Regions from separate parts of the Homo sapiens genome. Here region 2 is linked to region 1. The links are contacts of gene promoters, found by promoter capture Hi-C in human tissues and cell types (Jung and others, 2019). All regions are on one chromosome and are shown on one strand. Each heading gives the region's core, a stretch centred on a gene start or on the middle of the fragment in contact. The rest is flanking DNA. Distances are from core to core; before and after follow the strand shown. Region 1 holds the start of DGCR2 (DiGeorge syndrome critical region gene 2). Region 2 overlaps HIRA (histone cell cycle regulator).

Evidence for each region. Contacts are between HindIII fragments. The study calls those that stand out against the background at their distance.
Region 2: a fragment that was not itself captured here is called in contact with the fragment with the promoter of DGCR2 in region 1 in 2 of the 25 tissues and cell types used here (H1 embryonic stem cells and dorsolateral prefrontal cortex).

Annotation. Positions count from the first base shown.
Region 1 is chr22:19,119,702-19,125,091 of GRCh38, reverse strand. It overlaps DGCR2 (DiGeorge syndrome critical region gene 2), which reads left to right and starts at 2,680. Exons shown (of 10, transcript NM_005137.3): 1 at 2,680-2,964. The coding sequence starts at 2,886. It also overlaps the pseudogene TSSK1A. RefSeq lists silencers at 2,356-2,795, 2,916-3,035 and an enhancer at 2,820-3,321. The HindIII fragment of the contact is 22,645 bases long and covers 1-5,390 here.
Region 2 is chr22:19,382,807-19,388,196 of GRCh38, reverse strand. HIRA (histone cell cycle regulator) reads left to right here. Exons shown (of 25, transcript NM_003325.4): 11 at 381-486; 12 at 2,461-2,676; 13 at 4,492-4,577. Among named protein-coding and RNA genes, the nearest start is that of HIRA, 46 kb to the left of the region's middle. The HindIII fragment of the contact is 6,076 bases long and covers 1-4,604 here.

The DNA.
Region 1 (5,390 bases), core at 1,431-3,930:
GCTTAATCTCTGTTGGCCACTGTCATCCCGCAGGCAGAGCTTGGAGAACCTGAAGTAGAACAGCTTGATGTTGAAGTCCTTGTCGAGGAGAAGGTTCTAACACTTGAGGTTCTGGTGCATGATGTCCAGGTCGTGGCAGTATTTAATGGCTGAGGAGAGTTGGTGGAACATCTTGCACGCCATGTCCTTGGGCAGGGCTCCCTGGCACTCAATGAACTAGTTTTTTTTCTGCCCCTGGCTGGGCTCCCAGGGCAGATCTGGGGCTGGGGGCTAAAGGCGGGGACTGGATGCCACCCTGAGCACTGGTGGCTGCTCTGAGGACAGTACAAGCAGCAGGGGCAGCACTGGAGAGTGTGGCCATTGTTTTTTCTGGCAGTGGAGCCCCTCTGCTGTGCCAGGCTCTGTGTCCAGCACTTGTTCCGGGCTATGCCCTAGGGGAGTAGGAGTCACATGACTATCCTAGCCTTGGATTTGACTTTGGCCTCATCCACCTAGAGGGAGTGAGCACCCCTTTCTCACAGGAGCCAAGTGGAACCCTGGGCCCCTCAGGATGACTTGGTAGGGCGGGCTGGTTGTCACTCATGTTGGGTTGGGTCCCCACCTGCCGTGGCCCTTCCCCCTTTTCTCTGCTCCTTCACCTTCTTCCCTAACGCTGACTGCCCACTGCCAGGCCTTTGTGCATTCTTGGTTCTCCTCCTTCCAGACAGCCTCCTTCTCCTTCCCGCTGGGGACACCCCAACTACTGTCTCCTGGAAACCAAAAATAAAACTCTAACCCCCCAGCCATCTGAATGGACCCCTCCTCTCCACCAAGGGCATTCCAAACTTAACCTGAAAAACTATTTCAGGCCGTGATAGGAAGTGGGAGTCAGGCCTCATTATCCCTCCTCCCTTCAGGTTTCAGGCACAGCTAAGCAGTGTAACATCGACACAGAGACTTGAAGACTGACAACAGACTCTGTGGCAGTAAGATACCAGCATGACAGCAGGCCCGGAAGGAAACACATATTTTACTGCAAAACAGGTTTCTTTCACATATTTTGAAGTCGCTCTGCAAAGCTGTTTTTTGTGGGGAAAATCTACATTCTGTAGAGAATCCCTATCCCTTTCAAGGTCTTTTCTCCTGAGAGAATTAACTAGAGTCTGGCACCTTTTATTTATTTTTCCTTTTTTTTTTCCTTTTTTTTTTTTTTTTTTTTGAGACAGAGTCTTACTCTGTTGCCCAGGCTGGAGTGCAGTGGCATGATCTTGGCTCACTGCAACCTCTGCCTCCCCGGTTCAAGCGATTCTCCTGCCATCAGCCTCCTGAGTAGCTGGGATTACAGGCGTGTGCCACCACGCCTGGGTAACTTTTGTATTTTTAGTAGAGATGTGGTTTCACCATGTTGGCCAGGCTGATCTTGAACTCCTGACCTCAGGTGATCCGCCCGCCTTGGCCTCCCAAAGTGCTGGGATGACAGGCGTGAGCCACCACACCCGGCAGAGTCTGGCACTTTTTAATAAGAAACATTAACAGTCTTTTCTCTGTGAAGCCTGATACCTGGAGGCTTCATTTGCCTAAGAAACTTGGTCTCCACAACCCCTTAATGTAGACAGTCCCTTTTATTGATTCCAGGTCTTTAGATAAACTCTTTGAACCAACTGCCAATCCGCATGACCTAGAAGCCCCCCTCCACCCCCCACTTTCAAGTTGTCCCGCCTTTTCCGACTGAACCAATGTATATCTTACATGTGCTGATTGATGTCTTGTCTCCCTAAAATGTATAAAACCAAGCTGTGGCCCTACCCCCTTGGGCACTTGTCAGGATCTCCTGGGGCTGTGTCCCAGGCTATTGGTCACATATTGGCTCAGAAGAAATGTCTTCAAATATTTTACAGAGTTGGACTCTTCGCCGACACTGCCCTCCAAGGTTCACCCTGTTGGTGATGACGGGAGAAGTGGCACTTGGAGCACTGTTCGCAGGGGCGCTGAGCCTCCTCTCTGCCTAGCTTTCTTTCCTGCACATGTGGCCTTCCCCTAGCCATTGTGTAGGCAGGTCCTCCAGGGAGCCGGCTTCGCTGCAGTCTCCAGGACCTGGCCTTCCCGGTCTCTCTTTGCCTGACACTCTCTTAGGCCATTCCTGTTCCTCTTTCCCCACCCTCAGAACCGGCAGGCCCTCCCTCCTCCACAGCGGTTCGGCCTTAAAAAGACCCCTTTGGGGCGCACTTTTGGGCTGCTCACGGGACCTGAGCTTGCAGGTGTGAAGACCCTTGGAGTCCCAGCCAGGTTCCCACTTCGTTCTCTCCGCTCCCCACCCGCGCGACCCCTCGGCGCCCCGCCCCATGCCCCGCGCCTTTCGATGTCCATCCTTGCCGTCCCGCGCCCGCCGTCCCTAACCGGCGTCCAGAGACCCTACTCCCTTCGGTGGCCCCGCCGCTCAGGCCCCGGCCCCGGCCCTGCCTCTCTGCTTAACCAATGGCACGCCTCACTCCGTATGGTCCCGCCCTTCCCTTAGAGCCCGCCCCTCAGTCCCCGCCCTTAGGTCCCCGCCCTCCGCCGTCGCGACCTTAGGCCTCACCCTCTTCGGAGGGCTTTGGCTCTGGCCCCGCCCCCCATCTTGACGGTCATTGGCCCGCGCCTGCGTCGCGGGCGGGAGGCGGGGCGGGGCGGCGCGGCGCGGAGCCGAGCAGGACGGCCGCCATCTTGCGCGCAGCTGGAGTCGGTGCCTGAGGTTGCAGCCGAGAGTGTGCGCCAGCCCGCGGCCCAGCCGAAGCTCTTTCCCGCCGCCTCTCCGCGCCTCGCCCAGGTTCAGCTCCGCCTGACCCTCCGCTTGGCACGGTCCCCTGACCCTCAGTCCGGCCTGGTCCGGCCTTCCAGCCGCCCCGGGGACGATGAACGGAGGATAAATGGTGCCCAAGGCAGACAGCGGCGCCTTCCTGCTGCTCTTCCTGCTCGTGCTCACTGTCACCGAGCCGCTGCGGCCAGGTGCGCCGCGCGATGGGGGCGGTGTGGGGGCTGGGCGGCGAGCGGGGCCGGGGTCGCCCCGGGACCTCCTTTCACCCGCGGCGCCCTCCTGCAGGGGCCGCGCCTGGGGCAGGGGCGGGCGGGGCCTGGCTCGCGGGCCGCCTGGCACTCTCTGCGGACGCCTGCTGGAGCTTACCTGGGCTCGCGGCGCCTCGGACTTCGTGCAGCTCTGCTGTCCAGGATGTTGCCTCTGGGCCCTTCCCGGGAGCGGCGGCGGCCAGGAGCTACGCCACGGGCGCACCCTCTCGCCAGTCCAGCGTCGGAGTCGGGCTGGGGACAGTGGCTCTCAGGGGCACCTGGTTTCACAGACGTCCTCCCAGCAGTGGCCTAGTGCCAGCCTCTCAGTCCTGGAAACTCCTCGCCTGGACAGCGGTGGTTGTGGCTGTCATTCAGTGAGACGTTGCGCTAAGGAAGTCCTCAGGTCCCACCGGGCCTAGAGGAGGCACCAGGAGTCAGCCTAGCGTTGTGTGGCCGGCGCGAGCGTCCCGGGAGCAGAGACCTCGCCACTGTGCGGGGCCCTTAGCCGTGCTGCGTGTATGTGATGAATGAGTCCGTGCTTTGGAACTCCCCTCGGAGCTAGTGTGTTCTTAAGTCTGTGGTGGGGAATCAGAACCGTGGCAACCAGGAGACCCTTTTCTACCTATTTCGGTGTACCTCCCCTTGAACTGCACCAAAAAATCAAACTCCCTAAATGCAGGGCCGATGTATCCATCAGGCACAGGAATCCTGGTATCACTTGCCCACGGTACTTTTAGTAGCCTTCGAATGTTATTTTATTTTTTTTTAAAGTCAGCAGAAAAAAAATGAACTTTTAGGTCAAATAAAATGTTTTCGTATGTATATTAATACAGTCATCTTTATACTAATACAGTGAAAAAGCATGACTCTTAATATTTCTTAATGGAGGAAAGGTCCCATGAAGGCAGAAGTGCCAGGGCCATCTTCTCTGATGACCTGGGTGTGGGAGCACGGGGTGTGTGGCCCTCTCCTGTGCCCTAGCCAGGCTCCCAGCCCAGATACACCGCACCTCTTGGCTCTGCGCTTGTGTCATCTATGTGGAATGTCTGCCTCCTCCCTAGTGCCTGCCTGGTGGCCAAGGCCCTGACCGGTGCTCAACCTGGACAGATTCAGTGATGCTTCTCTGGTCTCCCCATGTAGAGCTAGTTGCTCACTGCTTTTGGCTGCTCTCTGGGCAGCGGGATGACTAGTTGTGGGGTGGCCTTGGTAAGAACAGAAGCCAGGAAAAGGGCTACCTGTGGAGGAGGGTATCATATAGGCTCTTGGAGGTCAGAACCAATGGGTTTGTGGATTCTTGTGATTAACTTCTTTAGAAAACATATATGTACGTGTAGAGAGGTAGAAGGTCACCGTTTTCTGATTCTTGAGTCCCAGTTTTGCAGATGAGGTCACCGGGCTCAGGTGAGGCCATATTATGCCTGGCTTCTTTGGGGTGCCTCTGGTTCCAGGCCCAGCATCTCCTGCCTGGGTGATAGAGGTGACTGACGTCCCCGACTCCTTTTTCCTTGCCAGCCTTTTCACATAGCCTGCCAACTGGCCAGCAGCAACTGAGAAAGTGCCTGTGGGTGCTTGCCCCCTGCCCATCCCTAGGGAATCCAAGTGACAAGAACAAGCCCCTCCTTTTAGGAGTGCCTGATGTGGAACAGAGGCCAGGTGTAAGTCACTTGTCACACTCCTGTGTGTTGAATACCCTGGAGTGTGGGGTCCCAGAGGTGGGTGGAGGTGGCCATCTTTTTGTACCTGTGAAGCAGTGAGGGCGTCACAGGAGACCTCACACTGAGGTCGGAGTAGGGCATGGGTGGGGTGGATCTGGTAGAGGGAGCAAACTTATTCTTTCGATTCCATGACTCTCCAGATGAGAACATTGCAGCTACCCCTGGAGGCGTCTTGAGTTGCCCTGCAGAACCCGGGAGCTGCAGCTGGCTTCCTGGCTTTGGCTGGGCAGGGAGGGCAGGCCTCTGGGCCTGATGTGTTCCTTGTATGCCCGTGTGTGCCTCTTCACACATTCACCATGTGTCCTTCCTGAGAGTGCTGCAGGGATCTGCCTGGCTGGTGCTTGCAAGAGGCTGGGGCTTCTCTGGTCTTAGTCTGCGTTCTTTCTGTGGGGATTCCGGCCTTAAAAGCATACTTGAGTATGAGGAAGGTATCAGTCAGAGCCCACTTCTCAGGAGGGTGTTTTCTGACTCCTGCCTGGTGGGGTCCCTGAAGATGATGCCAAGCCACCTGGGCTTCCTCTCTGGTACAGGGCAGGGTGGAAGGCCTTTCATGGAGTTATGGGGCAGCAAGTGCTTGCTGTACTTGACCTTTCACCAATTTTTTTTTTTTTTTTTTTTTTGAGACAGAGTCCTGCTCTGTTGCTCAGGCTGGAG
Region 2 (5,390 bases), core at 317-2,816, 260 kb before region 1:
GTCAGTGCATGAACCAAAGTCAGAAGCACACTTTCTGCTTCTCAGTGACCTGATTTATATGTATACTTTGTCAAGTTTTTTTTATTTTAATAGTTTCAAAAGTAAGATAAGTAAAATTGAAAATTCTTACAGAACATATGGTAAAGGAGATATTTTGTACACCTGCTTAGAGCTAAAGAACACCAGGGCCCTTTGGGATACAATTGTCGCCCCCTCCCCCCCCCGCCCAGGCCAAAGAAGGGAACCAGGCCACAGAAGGGAACCAGGAGTTTCCAGCATCTCCCTAGAACACTGCCCACCATCCTCACAGGCCAGCTACTGCGGCACATGTGTCTGCCTGGGGCTCTTGCTACCAGGCTGCTGATGGCCATGTCTTTCAGGACTCTGAATGGGCTGGGCATCTTGGTATGCTCTATGGACGGCTCTGTGGCATTCCTCGACTTCTCCCAGGATGAGCTTGGCGATCCCCTGAGCGAGGAGGAGAAGGTAGGCTGACGGCTCTTGTGCTGCTGGGTGCTCTGTGGCCATTGCCACAATAGCTCTGAGAGACCCCTTTGACTACACCCTCTTCTTGTGAGATACACAGACAAGTCATTTCTTAACATGTAATGGGGTATTCATCTTTTATATCTTGTAATCCTTCTTTACAAAATAGATTAATTAAAAAACGAGTCCCCATTTCAGAAATAAGTCCTGGAGTTAAGAGTAGAACTATTTTAGGCATCTCTTTTTGAGCTGATAATAGGCCATCCACTGGGAGGTTTTTGCCCTGGGAAAGAGCTGAAGTGACTCCTCAGGGGCCCCTGCTCATGTCACTTTCACCTTCATGGTAGTAATATTGGTCATTTCTTAGAACGCATTGTCTGCCAGGCTCTGGGAATGTGTTTTGCACATATGATTTCATTTAAATTGCACAAAACCCTTCAAGGCAAGGCTCATCCATTTCGTGGATATGGAAACTAAGCCTCAGAAAATAGCATGGCTCTTTGCCCAGACTGTATGTGACCCTTAGGTCAGAAGAGTGAACAAGGCCTGCTGCCTCTGGGCCAGGCTGCCTCCCCTCTGTGCTCTGCTGGGGTGATGGGGTCTCTCTGCCCTTCTGCCAGGCTTTGAGAAAAGCCCTGCTTCACCTACCAGAGGCTTAGAAACCTGCCCCCACTTGGTGGGTTGTGTGTATGTGTCTGAAGGGAGCTCTGTGAAAGCCCAGAGCAGGCTGGCAGCTCTCCTCATGACCTTATTTGCTGGTGGAAGCTTCCTCTTAACCTACAGTGTGACCTCCCCACTAAAATGTGAACCCCTTTGGGGGAGAGGTCTGCCTTAATGACTACACTTAGAATGGGGCCTGCCACCCCATCATTTTTCCATGAAGGAATGAGTATCTCAGAGGCCTCAGGTCCTCCTCCAACCTTGTCACTGTCATCAGGTACCTGGGATCACTATGCACTCCCTTGGAGTCACTCTGGGAGCCTAATAACCCATCTGCTTACCATTTCCCAAGTCAGGCTGGGACTCCATGTTGGAGGAACACTAGGGAAACCCTGGCCAAACACTGAATTCTGCTTCGAGATTCCAGGGGATAGACTCAGGAGAGAAGGGCAGGAGCCAAGATGGCAAGAAAAGGAGGTTCCTGGCCACATTCAAGCCCTGCAGGAGCAGGTCCCAAGGCACCTCTCTTGGAACGCTGCCTCTCAACCCATGCTCTGCTGTAAAGCAGATGTCCTGTTAACCACAGTCCCTGTTCTTGAGCAGAATCCCACATTGGACATTTGCACATCCCATGGAAGTGTGTTCCTCATGCACTTTCATGTACAGCAGTCACTACAGTGTGCTGGGGACACCATCTCTGCTCTCATGAGGCTCCTGTCTAGCTTGTTAGGGCACAAGACTATGAGGGCCTAGAAGGAGGGGAGTATGATGACATACTAGGAGGGGTGGGAGTAAAGGAGGCTCCCCAGCCCTGCTGTGCCAGGCCTTCCCATACTCTTAGAGACACTAAGCAGGCCAATGGGGACTTCCAACCACAGGGCTTATGGCTGCAGATGAGCTGTGAAAGTAGACTTTTGTTCTAGGATCTGATTCCCAAAATCATTTGGGTCCTAGGAGTGATTTAAGAGCCTTAAGTTAGCACCTTGAGTATCTTCCTTTCCACTGAAGCACTGTGGATTGTCATTTGTTCTCCACCAGACTGTGGGGCAGGTGTTGTCTTGTTGGCTGTCTCATTTACTGTCATCCCAGCTACAGATACAAGGGAGGCCATAAAAATCAAGGGTGGGCATGAGACATCAACAGAGCTGTCGAATGAGGGACAGGCAGAATAGGATGGGAGGCGATGGGGAGTTGGCCTTGGGTCCCTTCTCCACTCAGAGCCAGGAGAGCCCTGCTGTAGTTTGCCTGCTGGTGGGCAGCACTGGCCACACTGGCACTCATGCTGGCATGTCATGCCTCTCCTTGCTTCCCCAGAGCCGCATTCACCAGTCCACCTATGGCAAGAGCCTAGCCATCATGACCGAGGCCCAGCTCTCCACAGCCGTCATTGAGAACCCTGAGATGCTCAAGTACCAGCGAAGGCAGCAGCAGCAGCAGCTGGACCAGAAGAGTGCTGCGACCAGGGAGATGGGCTCAGCCACCTCAGTCGCAGGCGTTGTCAACGGGGAGAGTCTTGAAGATATCAGGAAGGTGAGAGCCCTGCCTGGTGGCGCTAAAGACATGGACATATGCCCAGGGACAGGGTGAGGGGCAGACACCAGTGGTGGTAAGGAAGGGGTTTGTTTAGAGTGGTACGGGATCTGTGGGTTAGCCAGCCTCGGGCCTGTTGGCCCCTTGCCCACTGCTGCATGATGCAGTAATGGGGCCTGGATCCTCTTTATCAAAGGCCTCCTTATCCCCAGGAGCCCAGAGGAGGTCATCTCTTGTAAGAACTTACGAATTTTATCCTTCTGGTCTTTCTAAAAATCCTAGATGCTAACAACAGTGGATTTCAGGCTCTGCCCTTAGGAGACTTCTATGGGCTCCCCCTTCTTCATCTGGAAGCCATGTTTGATGGGAAGGGGTTGGAAATGGGGCGGGAAAAGGGTAGGGAACGTTATTGCCTGGGGAGTATAAACCATCTCCAGGAGCCTGTGTAGGCTGACAAACCTCCTCCAGGCAATTCAGATATAAAGTATGAGAGAAAACCCCTAGTTACAAGCTTTCTGTGGAAGGAAGGATTCTATTTTGAAAGTCAGTTTGAAAATCTCTACCTCAGGCCAGGCGCAGTGGCTCACCCCTGTAATCCCAGCACTTTGGGAGGCTGAGGCAGGCGGATCACTTGAGGTCAGGAGTTCCGACCAGCCTGGCCAACATGGTGAAACCTTGTCTCTACTTAAAAAAAAAAAAAATAGCCGGGTATGGTGGTGCATGCCTATAATCCCAGCTACATGGGAGGCTGAGCAGGAGAATTGCTTAAACCCGGGAAGCAGATATTGCAGTGTGCCGAGACTGCGCCACTGCACTCCAGCCTGGGAGACAGAGTGAGATTCTGTCTCAAAAAAAAAAAAGAAAGAAAGAAAATCCCTAGCTTAGTGACAGATGTGTGGTTCACGGGTACAGAGCTCAGTCCTTTAGCCCTTTCATTGGTCCCATGGCTGTTGTGCGAGGCGGCCAGTGTGGCATGTACCCACTGCTTGTTCTTTGCTTGGGTGTCTTATTTAGTTGTACCAGGAGGGCAATTTAGAATACATTTCCTTAGAAGCCTTATTATTTTTAAACCTACCGTGTTGAAGTACAATTGACATATAAAAAGTTATACATACTTAGTGTGTACAAATTAATGATAAGCCAGACACAGAAGGACAAATACCGCATGATATCTCTCTTTTTTTTTTTTTTTTTTTTTGAGATGGAGTCTCGCTCTGTCACCAGGCTGGAGTGCAGTGGCGCAATCTTGGCTCACTGCAACCTCCGACTCCCTGGTTCAGGCGATTCTCCTGCCTCAGCCTCAGCCTCCTGAGTAGCTGGGATTACAGTTACACACCACCACGCCCAGCTAATTTTTGTATTTTTAGTAGAGACGGGGTTTCACCATGTTGGCCAGAATGGTCTCGATCTCCTGACCTTGTGATCTGTCCACCTCGGCCTCCCCAAAGTGCTGGGATTACAGGCGTGAGCCACCGTGCCTGGCCTGCCTGATACCTCTTATATGAGGAATCTAAAATAGTCAAACTCACAGAGACAGAGAATAGAATGGTGAATACTGGGGTCAGAGGAAAATGGGAGTTATTAGCCAAAGGGTATAAAGTTTAAGTTATAGAAGATGAATAAGTCCTAGAAATCTCCCCTACAGCATAGTGCCTACAGTTCACAATATGATATTGCATACTTAAAACTTTGCTAAGAGGGTGGATCTTATGCTTAGTGTTCTTATCACCAGGAAAAAAAGAGACTTTATTTTTTAATATTTGGAAATAGTTGGCCAAAACTTTTGCATTCATTTATGTAACTCTGCTTTGCCAGAATCTTTTGAAGAAACAAGTTGAGACTCGGACAGCAGATGGCCGGAGAAGAATCACGCCTCTCTGCATAGCACAGCTGGACACTGGGTACTGGTTCATTCCCCTTTCATGGTCTTATCTGGCGAGATCTTCCTGTCTTCTTTCAGCGGTTAACACTTTCACAGTGAGGATCTTCACGGGTCCTTCACAACCTGACTGGTAGAACATGGAAGCAAGGAAGTGAAGCTCAGCTTCCCGCAGTCTCAAAGCCCATACTCCTCCTGGAGCCCTTGTGCACACCTGAATCATGTGAGGGGTGGGAGTGCTAAGGCGGCCAGCACATCTGCTGCACTTCACTGTTGCCAGGGCACCAGAGGACGCACAAGGAAAGCAGTCAGTCAGGCTGATTTTTTTTTTCTTTTTTTTCTTTCATAAAGTTATTTTTATGATTATGAAAGGTATATTTACACATGGTTAAATTTAGAAAATAGTAAAAGCCCAAAGAAGAAAAAAACATTATCCATAATCAGATACAGTCACTGTTAATGTTTTTATATCTGTATTTCCAGTCTTTTTTTTCCCCACTCGTTACTGTTTCATGCCCATTCATCCATTTTAATAACTAGTCCTCTGAGGTGTTTGCTATCTGATTATCCAGATTCCCATCCTAGGATTTGCTTAGCCAGCTCACTGTAGACTTGTGTTTGTGTCCAGTTTCTCGTGATTATAAATGAGTCTTTGAGCTCACCTGTGGTTGTTCTCTCAGGATAACTTCTAGAAGTGGAATTACTGGGCAGAGAGTAGGGCTCCCAAACATATTTCCCTGTGGGGGACAGAGAAGGGGGAAGAGACTCATTCACCACTTGCTGTTGTCCCAGTGTATATAGTGAAGATTGTTTTTGAATTGGTTATTCTTCCCAA